Linked DNA regions of Homo sapiens: regions 1, 2, 4 and 5 are each linked to region 3. The links are contacts of gene promoters, found by promoter capture Hi-C in blood cells and fetal thymus (Javierre and others, 2016). All regions are on one chromosome and are shown on one strand. The core of a region is centred on a gene start or on the middle of the fragment in contact, and the rest is flanking DNA. Distances in the headings are between cores, read along the strand shown.

Region 1 (2,700 bases), core at 123-2,622, 200 kb after region 3:
CCCCTCTGCTCCACTCCCACCCCCGCCCCTGGTGCCTTCGGACTCCAAGGCTACTCCAGGAAATCAGTTTCCACTTCTGTCAATTACTGATTCTTTTGCCACTGTGTGAGGGCTCTAGGGGTAAAGTAGGGGAGAATGCACCCGTTTTTCTTTAGTTCCCCACTGGAATGTGCACAGCTTTGCCTTCCAGTGGCTTATAGAATTCTCAGTGAGAATTCTTTCCGTGTTGGTTTACTTTCAAGACATAAACCCACCAGAAGCTGGGATGAGGAAAAACTGGAGTGTAAGAAATGCCCTGGATTCAGAATTACTCTGCCTTCCAATAATAAAGGATTTGGTTAAGGGATAATATAGAATTGGAAAGTTTGCTGTATAGAATTTTCTTAGGGGATACAGGAATGTTTACATTGCATTCTGATCCATATTCTTTATGCCTTGTGTCTCCTAAGGGACTTACAGTTACGAGAGACTGTGCTAAATAGAAAACAGGCATCATTTTACTCCAGTGCAGAACACTAGCAAACTGAGAGTACACAGCATGAGCCTGAGATCTAAAGGGAATTTTTCTCCCTCCTGTTCCGAACCTGCATCTTGAGATCTGACTGCCTGCGTGGGTCAGGAGAGTGAAGCGATACACCTCACTTTGAGCATCTAGCCTAGTACCTGGCATGTAGGAGATAGATAATTTGGTACATGTTGGTTCATCGAGTGAGGAACTAAATAAAGGAAAGAAGAGTGGGCAAGACAGAGAGAGCTAGGCTCAAAAGACAGGCCACATCTGTCACATTGGCAGATAAGTGAGAACCTCTGGTTCTTTTCTCCCAGACAGTCATTATTCCAAACGTTCCATTATAATTGATTTTGTTTTAGCATATACACACATAGCGTGTTTCTTCATTCGCTGATGGTAATAGTGAGAATGTATATTCTTTGCTTCTCCTGGAAATGTGTATAAGTAAGCCTAAGATTAAGAGCTGTGCTAATGATTTTAGTAAATGGCGTCACCTACCCACAAATCCTGTAAGCTTGTCTTGTATAACTGATGCTTCTGTGCCTTTTAAGCTTAGGGATAAAATGGGTAGAAGACACAGGAAGACAAAATTCCATTCAAAGAATGAAGTAAATTTTTTTTTTTTTTGAGATGGAGTCTCACTGTGTCGCCCAGGCTGGAGTGCAGTGGCTCGATCTCGGCTCACTGCAAGCTCTGCTTCCCAGGTTCATGCCATTCTCCTGCCTCAGCCTCCCGAGTAGCTGAGGCTACAGGGGCCCGCCACCATGCCTGGCTAACTTTTTTTGTATTTTTAACAGAGATGGGGTTTCACCATGTTAGCCAGGATGGTCTTGATCTCCTGACCTTATGATCCACCTGCCTCAGCCTCCCAAAGTGCTGGGATTATAGGCGTGAGCCACTGCGTCCGGCCTAAACATAAAGTAAATTTTGAGTTAAGGTAGGTGATCTTTGGGGGTAGTGTTACTCCTTACTGGAAGTATTCAATCAGAGACTGCATGACTACTTGTTTAGAAGGTTATATGAGAGATTCAAACACCAGAAGGGCAATAAATTGGCTCTAAAATCCTCTCTAAGTGTAGGAGTCCATATTTGTTTGGAAATTTTTTTAACACTAGTTTTACTATAAGTTCATAAGGAGACATCACCCAACCCAAGGATTAGACTTCCTTTGTAAGCTTGACACAGAGATGAGTAGGATGAATAAACTGTTCATGGCTAGGAGGCCATCTAATATCATCACTCATACTGTCAAAAATGGGGCTAAAGGATTTTAGAACATTGGGTCCAGCTTACAATCCCAGTCCAAGTGTACTTTTTCATGTCAACTGTCCAATCTGGAGATCCTCTTTCTCTCTTAACGACCTCTTCACTGATGACCTTATCAGTAAGATTGACTTTCTTCACACTACACTGTAAGGATCACAATAAGAGAGACTATGTCTGTGATGTATATGGGTGCATCCTGAGCACCTAGCATAGTGTCTGTCATGTAGTAGATAGATAATGAGTTCGTACTGGTTGATTTAATACCAAACCTTTCCATTTAAGTCACAGTGTACTGAATACCATAAATTCAAAGACAGAAGTCTATGGGCCAGTCCAGAGATAGAAAAAATACTTCTGACTGCATCTTAGTCCTTGATCTAGAGTGTCAACAGCATCTTAAGACTGCTTAAGGACCCAGTTAAAGAGAAGTGTAGGCCTATTCCTGAATAGCGGCTGAATCTGCTTAAGTCAAGGGTCCTATTTTATATATCAGTGCATTTGGGTGGGTGTGGCTGGCTGGCGAAGAGCTAATATTTTCAAGTGATGTTCACTGGAGAATATTAATGGGAGAGAAACTAGTTACTGTGAAGTTGTTATCTAAGGAGGGTAGAGGACTGTGTAGATGAGGCTAAGTTAGAGCGTTCAGTCTTCATTACGAATCTCTTAGGAACAACTTCTTTCATAGCTAAGCATGATTGCCATAAACTGGGATAGTTCTTTTGCAAATGTGTGCCTTTGATTTCAAAGAGATGGGCTCAGAGAGTAGCAGTGATTGCATGTACTCCATCTATGCGAGTGGAGATAATCTGGAATATAATGCGGTGAGTATTTCTAGGGGTTTGTGATCTTCCTTGGATCCTCCATGCAGCTTGGCCATCCTTCCACGGGTTCCAAGTCACATCCCTTCTCCATTTTTCCTCCCT
Region 2 (2,700 bases), core at 80-2,579, 250 kb after region 3:
GTTTGTTTGCTATCTTGTGTGCCATTCATTTTAGGGTCTCTCCTCAGATATCTAGTCATCTTTGGTGCTCTGCTCATAGTTAAAGATGAGAACAAAAACTAATTGGAAGTTTTACGTACATGTGTGTTTCCATTTTAAGGTTATCAGATTGGACTATTTTATTTTATTTATTTATTTTCCTATTTTCTTTTTTTAAATGTTGGCTCCAATCCAGTAAGTTGACTTCACAACCTACTAATGGGTTATGACCTGAAGTTAGAAAACTATGGTATAGAAGATCTAGAGAGAGACCTTCGGTTACAAGTACATATAACGCAAGCTGGATACTTGGATACTGTTGTAGACTCTTCAGCCATCATCTTCCACATCCAACAGCTTTCTACATGTGTAGGCTCTGTCTCTTACATGCCTCTTGATTGACTTTCCTTCTCTGCATGTACTGTCTCTCCCTCCTCCCTGCCACATGGACCAAGCTGCCTGTCCTGGTTTCCTGCCTGCTGCTTAGCCCTCCTGTCCATCCTCCAAAGTGCAGCCAGTGATCGTTCTAAAAAATGCATTTGATGAAAAGTCTGTAATAGTCTTTACTTGTCTACATCCTACACACACACACACAAAAACAAAAACAAAAACAAAAAACCAATAAATGCATCTAATTCCTTAGCCTTGTCTGGCCTTGATTTCTCCTCCAGGGTCATTTCTCACTAATTCTGCATTTGTATCTCATGTTGAATCAATGTTGACTCATGCACAAGTCCTTGAATCTTTCATGCTCTTTCATATCTTGGGCCTTTGCTTTTGAAGATTTTTCTGCCTAGAATTCCCATTTGACCGAATACTGGGCTCATTCCAGGATCAGCTCAATCCTTTATTTTTCTTTTCTTTTTTAAAATTATACTTTAAGTTCTGGGATACATGTGTAGAATGTATAAGTTTGTTACATAGGTATACACATGCCATGGTGGTTTACTGCACCTATCAACCTGTCATCTACATTAGGTATTTCTCCTAATGCTATCCCTTCCCTAGCCCCCCACCCTGCAACAGGCCCAGGTGTGTCATGTTCCCCTCCCTGTGTCCATGTGTTCTCATTGTTCAACTCCCACTTATGAGTGAGAACATGCAGTGTTTGGTTTTCTGTTCCTGTGTTAGTTTGCTGAGAATGATGGTTTCCAGCTTCATCCATGTCCCTGCAAAGGACACGAACTCATCCTTTTTTATGGCTGCATAGGATTTCATGGTGTATATGTGCCATATTTTCTTTATCCAGTCTATCATTGATGGGCATTTGGGTTGGTTCCAAGTTTTTGCTATTGTGAATAGCGCTGTAGTAAACATATGTATGCATGTGTCTTTATAGTAGAATGATTTATAATCCTTTGGGTATATACTCAGTAATGGGATTGGTGAGTCAAATTATTTCTGGTTCTAGATCCTTGAGGAATCACCACACTGTCTTCCACAATGGTTGAACTAATTTACACTCCCACCAACAGAGGAAAAGTGCTCCTATTTCTCCACATCCTCTCCAGCATCTGTTGTTTCCTGACTTTTTAATCGCTCAGATTTATGAGAGAAGTCCTAATGTTGGCTTCTTTGAGTGTTTTGAGCTGGTTAGATTCTTCAGGTAAAATCTTGTCTGAAGGATTTTGCTGTCATTGTTTTGGTAGTCCAATCAGAGAAAACAGGAGCCTCAGTAGTCAGGATATTACTACTCTCTTAGTGTCCTTGTTGCGTGTGTAATACCCTCCTCTTAAACTCTTCCCAATATCTTCCTATTCAGAGATCTTTGTTTTATTCATTCTTTTAGAATAAACTTTCAGTTTTCTGTCAAAGTTGATTAGGGGCAATTTTGCAACCATATAGATTAGAGGAAGACATCTGGAGGCCTAACTTTTCTCTTTCAAAACATTTTATTAAGAAAGGTTTTAAACATATATCAAAGTAGAGAGAAGAGTATAAACCCCAATTAAATACTTGTCAATATTTTGCCAGTTTCTGCTACTACCTAAATTTACTTGCAACCTATCCTGTTGTGTTCAGCTGTAACTTTGCTTCCTTCCAGAGGTCCTGGTACCACCAATCTCTGAGTGTTTTTTCAGTGTAAACTGAGTGGCTTACTTGTTCATTTATTCATTTCTCCACCACCACCTTAGGATTCTGCTTTCTTGAGTCTACTAATGAATTTATCACTTTTCTTTTTGCTTTACAGCTTCCAGGCTATTATTGTTATTATCTTCTCTTTTGGTTTTGTTACCATATCGAAGTTTCAGTTTCTCCACAGATTGTACCTTTTCTGACACTGGAGATTTTTAATCCTGGGCCGATCTACTCTTTGATGGGCTGATCTTTTATATCTCATTTCAGTCTTCACATTCTCCTAGAAACTTTCCTTGACCTCCCCATTATGACTTCACGGTTTGTCCTGTACCCTCTCATTTTATCCCTTTCTTTATCCCACTACATCTCTGATCTCATTGTCTTGTAATTACTTGTCTCCTTCAAGAGACAGTAAGTTCTGGGAGGACAGGTATACATTCCCAGAACAAATTATACATATAGAAAAATATTATTAATTATATACCATGTGCCAGAAATAATTGTTTTTTCATTAACAACTTATGTAATCCTCAGAATAATTCTAGGATGTAGGCAATATCATTATCCTCAATTTATATCTGAGAAAACGGAGGCGCTGTTATT
Region 3 (2,700 bases), core at 95-2,594:
AGAATAATGTTTTTCAATTCATATAAGTGGAATTTATCATAGCCATCTCTGAAGATGGTATGATTCACACACTTACTAAAGGACTATCTATTTCAATGCTTCTTAAAGAGGTGATTTTTCACTTTTCACTTCTACTAACATAAGAAAGACAAGTCTTCAGGCAGAAAATTTTAACCTGAGAGACAGTGGATGGGATAACTCAGCTGTTGAGTCAAATATAAGCATAAATTTAAAAACAAAGCAAATGAAGATTGCTCATGAGTTCAGGATCTGCAGCTAACAGAGTTTGGAAAGGTGGGTTGGGGAAAGAGGCAGTCAAAGTTTCAAAAGGGAAATGTTTCCCAGTATGTTCCTAAATAGATCCACTCTGCACCCAAGTTCAGGGCTTTACACACTGAGGTTATAATACTATTGTTTCCAAGCACTCAGCCTTAGTAATCCCCCTCCCTCTTCGCAGAAAAAGAAAACAACAGCAAAAAAGGACAGAAAATGAAATGATCTGTGTCCAGCGAGTTTGAGTGCAACCTTCCCCGTCACCGCTAGTTGTCACTTGGCTCCCAGACGGGAAAGCTGAGGTTTTCGGCACTGCGGTTAGGGAGAATGCAGTCCTAATTAAACTGAGTAACTCCTAAAGCTTCCCTTTAAAGTCCTCAGCCGAGTGAAAGCCAACATGCAGTGGGGCTGGGGACCAATAGTGGGGGGTGTAGCAGACAGAAGGACAAACAAACCGTAAGAAACAGGCAAACAGCTGCCAGAACAGCGACTGTCTCAGACCTCCACGCACAAGCCAGACACCCTGCGGGCGGGGGTGGGGTGGGTGGCGGGGGGTGGGAGGGGGGAGAAGGGAGACGGGGGATGGAAGGACCCGATTGCAGTGGAATACAGCACCCCTCTTCCCCAAAATGATGGGACCACGGACAGAGGTAGCCTCCGTACTCTTTCCCCCCATTTCCATCAGAGCGATGTGGTCAGTAGAAAATTGCATACCTGAAGAATACAATGGTCTCCCAAAGGTAGAGTCGAAGAGTATTGAAGCTGTACATTTTTCAGGTCCTTGTGCTTTGTAGTCCACGAGTTATGGGGGCAAAAATGTTTCAAATTGGCACTTACAAAACCAGAAAGCGCTATTGCAAAAAATAATCCAGATGTTAAAGGGAGGCGGGGAACAGGGGCGCGGAGGGAGAGCCCCAGGGGAAATTGGAGCGAGGGGGTCGTAGATACCACGGACAGCGGCGGCTGCGAGGCGTTTCAGCACCACGGAGAGCGTCCAGACCTGCTTTTCAGGAGCGCGAAGAGTATTGCTGTTTGTTAAACTCCAGCGTGTCTGTTGGCTCCCTGCGGCGCTGGGGAGGCACGTTTGGGGGTGGGTATATTTCCTTTTTTTTTTTTTTTTTTTTAAACCCCTGTTTTTCTGTTTAAACGGCCAGCTCCCTGCAAGGAAAAAAATCTTCTGTGGAGATCAGAGCGCTGGCCTCGGACCGTTGGATTGGGCGAGCATCTTGGGTAAAGAGAACAGAGCTTTATGGCTCTGGGCCGGCCTGAGGGGGTTAGGGGCGAGGGGAAAGCGGTTGACGGCGCTGCCTTCAGTTAAATCTCGGAGAGTGTGCCAGGCTGGCGCATCGCAATCCAGTCTCGGAATCTCGTTCTCCTGCCTCTGTGCGGGTCTGCTGTCGCCTTGCTATTCCTGTTTCCCGGTCCCCGCCGAATAAGTTGTGATCACTGCAGAAAAGGTGTCCCATTGCTCGGGGCCGCAGGCGTCAGAGAGCCCAGGGCAAGTTTCAGGGGCTACCGGGGTCCCTGGCTACCCCGCGGGGCTCTGAAGCCCAATGTCTCAGATGCATCTCGGTTTTCTGAGCTCGCTCATCTTCCCTTGGTCAAGACTCCTTCAGATCTTCAGACTTTCTTACTGCATTAATTTAACAAACTGGAGGCGTGGGGGATGGGAGGGGTGATAGCCGATGGGAGGGGGTTGAGGGGGAAAAAAAAAGGGGGAAAACTCCTTAGTATCTTCAAACCCTCCCACTCGAGGTGTTCATTGGCCCGCGGCTACGAAAACCAGATCTTCTCCCGGTATTCGGCCAATAGCCTGTTAGACTCCGGGTTGAATTTAACGCTTAGAGTGCTGGACGAGATCTGCGCAATCCCCTTCCTACCCCCAAGCTTCTTTCCGTGTAAGCGGTGGGGTGAGAGAGGATATGGAATTAATCTCTCTAGGTCTCTCAAAAGGTTGCCTTGATTTTTAAAGAATGCAGTTGTATGTGAGTAAAACACATGGTTCCTTGTTAAGACGTGCTCTGGGCTCAATTTATCCTTTTAAAAGGGAAGAGTTGAACCAGATCCCTGATTTTTTTTAAAAGAGCTCTGAAGTTATAATATTTGGCCCTAGAAAGAAAGGAGGAATATCCAAAAAGAAGTCTGGTGGATAAAGACCCCCTCCAGGGTCACCGCAGCAGGGAAATACGAGAGAAATTCTTTGAGCAGTTTCCAGCGTTGAGTGGGAGGTGTTGTGGCTGGCACCCTTTTGAGAGGGAATAAAAGCACCTTCTTCCAACTGGACAGGAGACAGTTTTATTCGCCTTTTATATGCTGGGGAAACTGAGCCTCACAGAGCTGTGGCTTGCTCCAAATTGATGGCAGAGCCAAGTTGTACACACAGGGATGTGTTATGACTCACATTTCGTTATTTCTTCCTCTGTTTTC
Region 4 (2,700 bases), core at 201-2,700, 180 kb after region 3:
TATCCTTTTCCCTCCTAGATTTGGCCCAACTACTTTTTCCATCATTGTATACTGTTTGTGCATTGTGATCCATCCCCTCTTCCTCTATTAGTCTTTATACCTGAGTGTGACCACCAGTCTGTGGTCCTCTCTCCCTGAAGTATTTGCATTTTATGACTTACAAGAAAGAATGAAAAAATAAGTGAATGAGTGATTTGGAGTGTCCTTTTAGTGTTCCTGAAATAATTAATCAGGATAGCTAACATTTGCTGAGCACTTACATTGTGCCAGGAACAATTTAACTTACACATCTACTCTATGCAGTAATCTTTCCCTTTTGCCAATGAGGAAACTGAGGCACAGTGGTTAAGTGACTAGCTCAAAGTCATGTACTGTATTTTACCAAGTCTAAATATCTTGCTAAATAACTAATGGTGCATTAATTATAAGATGTACCATTACTTTGTTTACACTAAAAAATGCTGCTAATAAAACTAAAACATGTAACTGATTTTAAGAAATGATAAATGTGAAAAAATATGCACCTTAGAATCAGTGACTGTACATGACAGAGCTGGGATTTGAACCCAAGTAGATCAACAGCAGTACTTACAGCTTTCTACCATGCTCTGTTTATGCCAAAAGATAGTCTTGACTACCATTTTATTAAGTCAGCATTTTTTTCAAGTGTTTTGAAAGGGAGTAGTGGGTATCAAGGAGGAAAGTGTTCTGTGAACAAGTAAGTTTAGGAAAGGCTTCATCAGACAGAATATAATTTTTCTACCACAGGACTTCTCCGAGCTGTTAATTTTTTTTTTTATTTTTTATTTTATTTTTGTTTTTGAGATGGAGTCTCGTTCTGTTGCCTAGGCTGGAGTGCAGTGGCACGATCTCAGCTCACTGCAAGCTCTGCCTCCCGGGTTCATGCCATTCTCCTGCCTCAGCCTCCTGAGTAGCTGGGACTACAGGCGACTGCCACCATGCCCGGCTAATTTTTTGTATTTTTAGTAGAGACAGGGTTTCACCGTGTTAGCCAGGATGGTCTGGATCTCCTGACCTTGTGATCCACCTGCCTCAGCCTCCCAAAGTGCTGGGATTACAGGTGTGAGCCACCGCGCCTGGCCTAGAGCTGTTAATATTAACATGTATTTTTGTACCTTCTGCATCATTTCTCAAAGTTTTTTTTTTTTTTTTTGTGGTGGAGTATTTTATGGAACTTCAGTTTCTTGGAACACATTTGGAGTACACAGTAATTAGTAATTTCTCTAATCTGGTAACAAATGTGTCCAGAAGGTCGAGTTTCATTTTGCCTAACTAGTCTGTGGGGGTAATTATTGCATATTAGGCATGATGGGTCTGTAAAGATGGAATTGAAATTAACCCTACATCTTCAGGAAATTTTTCTCCTGGTCCACATATTTTATTCAGTATTAATTTTTTAAAAAGGTATTTAATACCAAGAACAGTATTTTTCAAAGCATGCTTTTTGGCAATGGATTTCAAACTTTTTCGGTCAGGTATCCCTACCAGTAGAAAAAAAAATAAGCGAATGTTATGGTTCCTTTAAGGACAAAATGTACCAATGATTATAAAGATGACTTGCATACTGGGAGGCACTCATTGCCATTGTTTGATTATTTAAAAAAATTGTTTTGCAGAAACTTTTTGTAAAGGTTATAATTGCTTTTATCTACAGGTAACAGAGTACCTGCCTAATGATGCTTAAGCAATAAAGGTTGTTCAAGTTCCTAAAATAGGAAGAAGTTTGGAGATAGGTTGTCCAGGGCTAACGCAGGGCCTCAACTATGTCCTGAATGACTCAGATGTTTCTTTTATGCCACCACCCCTCCCTAAAATGTTGTCTTGTTGTCTCAGGGACACAATGTCTGCTGCAGTCCCAGGCATCACATCTCTGGACAAAGCAGGACAAAGAGGTTATAGTGGCATCAACTATACCTACCTTTTTTTTTTTTTTTAATCGAGAAAGGAAAATGTTCCTGAAGTCCCCAGTAGCCTTCTCTTTATGTGCTGAAAGTGCTGAGAGACATAGCCACACCTGGTTGCAAGCAAGCTGGAGCCAGGACTGTCATGATCAGTGTGTGCCAGTGGCTCTCCCAGTGAGGCCTCCAGGCCAGCATCATCACCATCACCTAGGAACTTGTTACACATGCAAATTCTCACTCCCCGCCATCCCCCAGACCTACTGAATCAGAAACCCTGGAAGTGGGCCCAGCAGTTTGTATTTTAACAAGCTCTCTGGGTGATTCAGATACACTAGATTTTGAGAAAAACTGTCTCAGACCAATGATTTGTTGTTCCAGACTGGGGTCATTGTTGCCCTGAGCAGACCTGAGATTCCATTTGTAACACAAAAGTTAGGGATGGATATCGGGCAGGTGTCTAAGTGTCCAACACAGAGACATTAATGTTTGACTGTTTTATATGTTATAAACAGGGATTATTTTTATTAATGTAAAAAGCCGCAGCAAAAACCAGCATTCTTAGCCTTGAGAACCAGCACTTTCTATCTTGTTTGCTGTGTAACCTTGAGCAAATCACTGAACCTTTCTGAGTTTGCTTCCTGCTCTTTTAAGAAGAGAAATCTTTGCAGGGTTTCTATAGGAACCATCTAATACAATGCACATAGAAGGACTCCAAAAACCCTCACACTTTGTGTGGTGTCTGCTCCCATGCGTGGGTGGATCACTGTCCCCCTGCATC
Region 5 (2,700 bases), core at 26-2,525, 150 kb after region 3:
AGGCTCCTAAAATGCTGGGACTACAGGTGTGAGCCACTGCACCCGGCCCGATTCATGTTTCTGTACCATTGCTCTAGTTCATTGATCTCTAAGTGGTGTTTTGTATATCACTAGCTAATGTGCATGGTGATTAACTGCTAATAAATGTCAAAGCTGGGACTTGAACCCAGGTCTTCTGCATGACAAGCAAGCAACTTAAGAGTTTAACTGGAAGGCTTGCTGCTTAAATGGCTCCCTCTTGATTCAAGAGTGAAAGGGGTATGGTGATTAGAGGCTTGCCCTAGGAGTACTCCTGCTCCAAAGTCAATGATCTAGAACTGTAGGTTTAGAGATGTGGATAAGTAAATGATTCATTGGGAAATGGCTCTGAGCCTTCTGAGAACCTTAAGAAACATATTCTTTTTTACTCCTGGCTGGTCATGCATAAGACTTAGAAACGAATGATAACAGAATATATTTTCTGTCCCTCTTTGACATCACCTGAGTTTCAGTAAAATGTAATCTTCTATGGGTGGAAGAGAGTTTATAGAGCCGGCCAAGTCTGATCGCCACCTGTGTCTTCCACCAACCCAGATGTATGTCCCTACCTGCTTATTAACTTTTGATGAGAAACGTTCCGGGAAGAACCTGCATCCATATGTCCCCTTGATTTATGTCTTCCTCTGCATTCTCACTGCTACCATCATGAGACCCTTGCCACCTCAAGCACTGGTCCTGTTTGGAGTATTCATAATATTCGGGGTAGAGCATCAGTTCTCCCTGAGCTGATTTATTTCTCATCTCAATATTATTAGTCTTCCTTATTCAGAGAAGCTCAAGGGACTACAGTAGTTCCCTGTTACCTGCAACATCAACATGAGGCTTTTCTCCAGGGTCTTCAAGTAACGTCTTAATCTTTTTCCATTTGTCTTCATCTCCTATTACTCCTTAGTATATGCCATTAGAATGCTTTTTATCCCATTATCTATCAACCAGTTATATAACTCACATGTTCAAATACTTACTGAGCCCTACTATATGCTAGGCACTGTATTGCACACTAGGGTACAGCAGGAGCAAGATAGTCACAGCACCTTCCCTCATGGACCTATGATCCATAAGGAGAGACAAACATTTAAACAACTCCATTCACCGTTGCTTGTTTCGTTAAAATGGTAGTAAGGGCTACAAAGAATGGAGGGGTGCTCAAAGTGTGTTACAGGGGAACCTTACTTTGTAAGGAGAATCAGGGAAGTCTTCTTTGGGAGGAAATGGTGAAGTTGAATCAGAGATAATTCCTTATATTCATTCCCATTTTCTATCTAGTCCTGTGCTTTTTGAATCCCTAGGAAAAGCAGCCTTTCTTTCCTCTTTCTACACAAAAGCTACTCATTCCTTAGTTGTAACTTATTTCAGTGAGTTGACGGAAAAATATGACAGTTAAAAGCTCAGATGCTTAAATCAGAGAATTGAAGTCGAAACCCAGCTCCACCATCTCTTGGCCTGGTGTCTTTATGCAAGTTATTTACATTGCTAAGCCATAATTTGCTCAAATGCCAGGTGAGGATTGTAATACATTCCTCTCAGAATCATTCTGGGTGTGAAGTACTTAGCACCGTGCTGACACTTAGTAAATGCTCAATTAATAATGGCCAAAATTACCATAATGATCAACTCCTGGGTTGACGTCCAGGACCTGCTTCCTTCTGTTTTTTCAAAAAAACTCAGTCTGTACACACTAGCCAGATACTCTGCCAGATGTTGGAGACACATCAATAAATAAGGTGGCCCTGCCCTCAACCCTGGAAAATCCTTTTGGATCTCAGCTTCATCTTCATGGTGAGGGCCAAACCTACTCTTAGGCTCAAATGACATGAACCCAGGCCCTAAAGTGACATGGTATGGCACCTATTCCCACACCTACTTTGGAGACTTGGTTCTGAAACTTTTCTCTGCCTGGTGCCCTGTGCCTGAACCCCTGCCTGGATTACCTGCCTCTACCTGAATTTCCCACAGGGCTGGTGGTAGCCTTTTGCTTACTGGTTCCTCTATCTTGTATCACACTCAACACACAGCTCTGCTTGCGGTAACTCCTAGGCAAAGGCTGGTTCACTGATCATGCTGAGAGCTCCAAGATTAACTTTGCTTCTTTGTCAGTCTTATCTTCTGGTACATGGGATTTTTACCAAGCAGCTCAAGTTGACTTTGTAGCTTTCACTCCCCAGGTTGGGCAGCACTGAGTGGATGCTAGGAGTGCTGACTACTTGGCTGGGCAAAACAAAACCTGCTGTCTCCAGCTCAGGCCCACTAATCAAGAGGTCCGTGGGCCTCTTGATTGTCCACTGATGAGAACTAGCTTTGAGAATATGGGATTGAATCTTCCTTTGTGGGAACAACTCCTGTATAGCCTGACTTGGATATCCATAGAGTTGGGGGTGAAGTATTCTGTATGAGAACCTTCTAGGGGTAGGGCAGAAATCTTTAACTCTTACTTAACAGAATAACCCTTTCTTTTTTAATGAACTCTGTATACAACAGATAAAGGGATGCTTCTTGGAGGGGGTGAGGCTTGGCTAGGAGGGTAGAACACAGACTGTGGTTTATGTCCTTGTCCACCTGCCCTCCTCAACTTTAGGTCTGCATTTGAGACCCATCTTTGATATGTGCTAACTTAGGACTTGGGGAAAACATTGCCCAAGTCTTGACTTTGGGTTCCTCATC

What was found. Contacts are between HindIII fragments. The CHiCAGO score rates a contact against its expected background, and 5 or more counts as called.
Region 1: a contact is called between a fragment that was not itself captured here and the fragment with the promoter of GLRA1 in region 3, in 1 of 17 cell types (naive CD8 T cells). The highest score is 6.2, in naive CD8 T cells.
Region 2: a fragment that was not itself captured here is called in contact with the fragment with the promoter of GLRA1 in region 3 in 2 of 17 cell types (total CD4 T cells and naive CD8 T cells); the score reaches 5.4 in total CD4 T cells.
Region 4: a contact is called between a fragment that was not itself captured here and the fragment with the promoter of GLRA1 in region 3, in 2 of 17 cell types (total CD4 T cells and naive CD8 T cells). The highest score is 5.6, in total CD4 T cells.
Region 5: a contact is called between a fragment that was not itself captured here and the fragment with the promoter of GLRA1 in region 3, in 1 of 17 cell types (naive CD8 T cells). The highest score is 6.4, in naive CD8 T cells.

What each region holds. Positions count from the first base shown.
Region 1 is chr5:152,126,043-152,128,742 of GRCh38, forward strand. All of the region lies in intron 1 of LINC01933 (long intergenic non-protein coding RNA 1933), which reads left to right. Among named protein-coding and RNA genes, the nearest start is that of LINC01933, 170 kb to the left of the region's middle. The HindIII fragment of the contact is 624 bases long and covers 1,061-1,684 here.
Region 2 is chr5:152,174,051-152,176,750 of GRCh38, forward strand. All of the region lies in intron 1 of LINC01933 (long intergenic non-protein coding RNA 1933), which reads left to right. Among named protein-coding and RNA genes, the nearest start is that of LINC01933, 220 kb to the left of the region's middle. The HindIII fragment of the contact is 3,862 bases long and covers 1-2,700 here.
Region 3 is chr5:151,923,507-151,926,206 of GRCh38, forward strand. GLRA1 (glycine receptor alpha 1) reads right to left here and starts at 1,345. Exons shown (of 9, transcript NM_000171.4): 1 at 988-1,345. The coding sequence starts at 1,043. RefSeq lists a silencer at 1,625-1,837. The HindIII fragment of the contact is 1,526 bases long and covers 633-2,158 here.
Region 4 is chr5:152,104,633-152,107,332 of GRCh38, forward strand. All of the region lies in intron 1 of LINC01933 (long intergenic non-protein coding RNA 1933), which reads left to right. Among named protein-coding and RNA genes, the nearest start is that of LINC01933, 150 kb to the left of the region's middle. The HindIII fragment of the contact is 3,521 bases long and covers 1-2,700 here.
Region 5 is chr5:152,068,665-152,071,364 of GRCh38, forward strand. All of the region lies in intron 1 of LINC01933 (long intergenic non-protein coding RNA 1933), which reads left to right. Among named protein-coding and RNA genes, the nearest start is that of LINC01933, 110 kb to the left of the region's middle. RefSeq lists a silencer at 2,067-2,307. The HindIII fragment of the contact is 6,897 bases long and covers 1-2,700 here.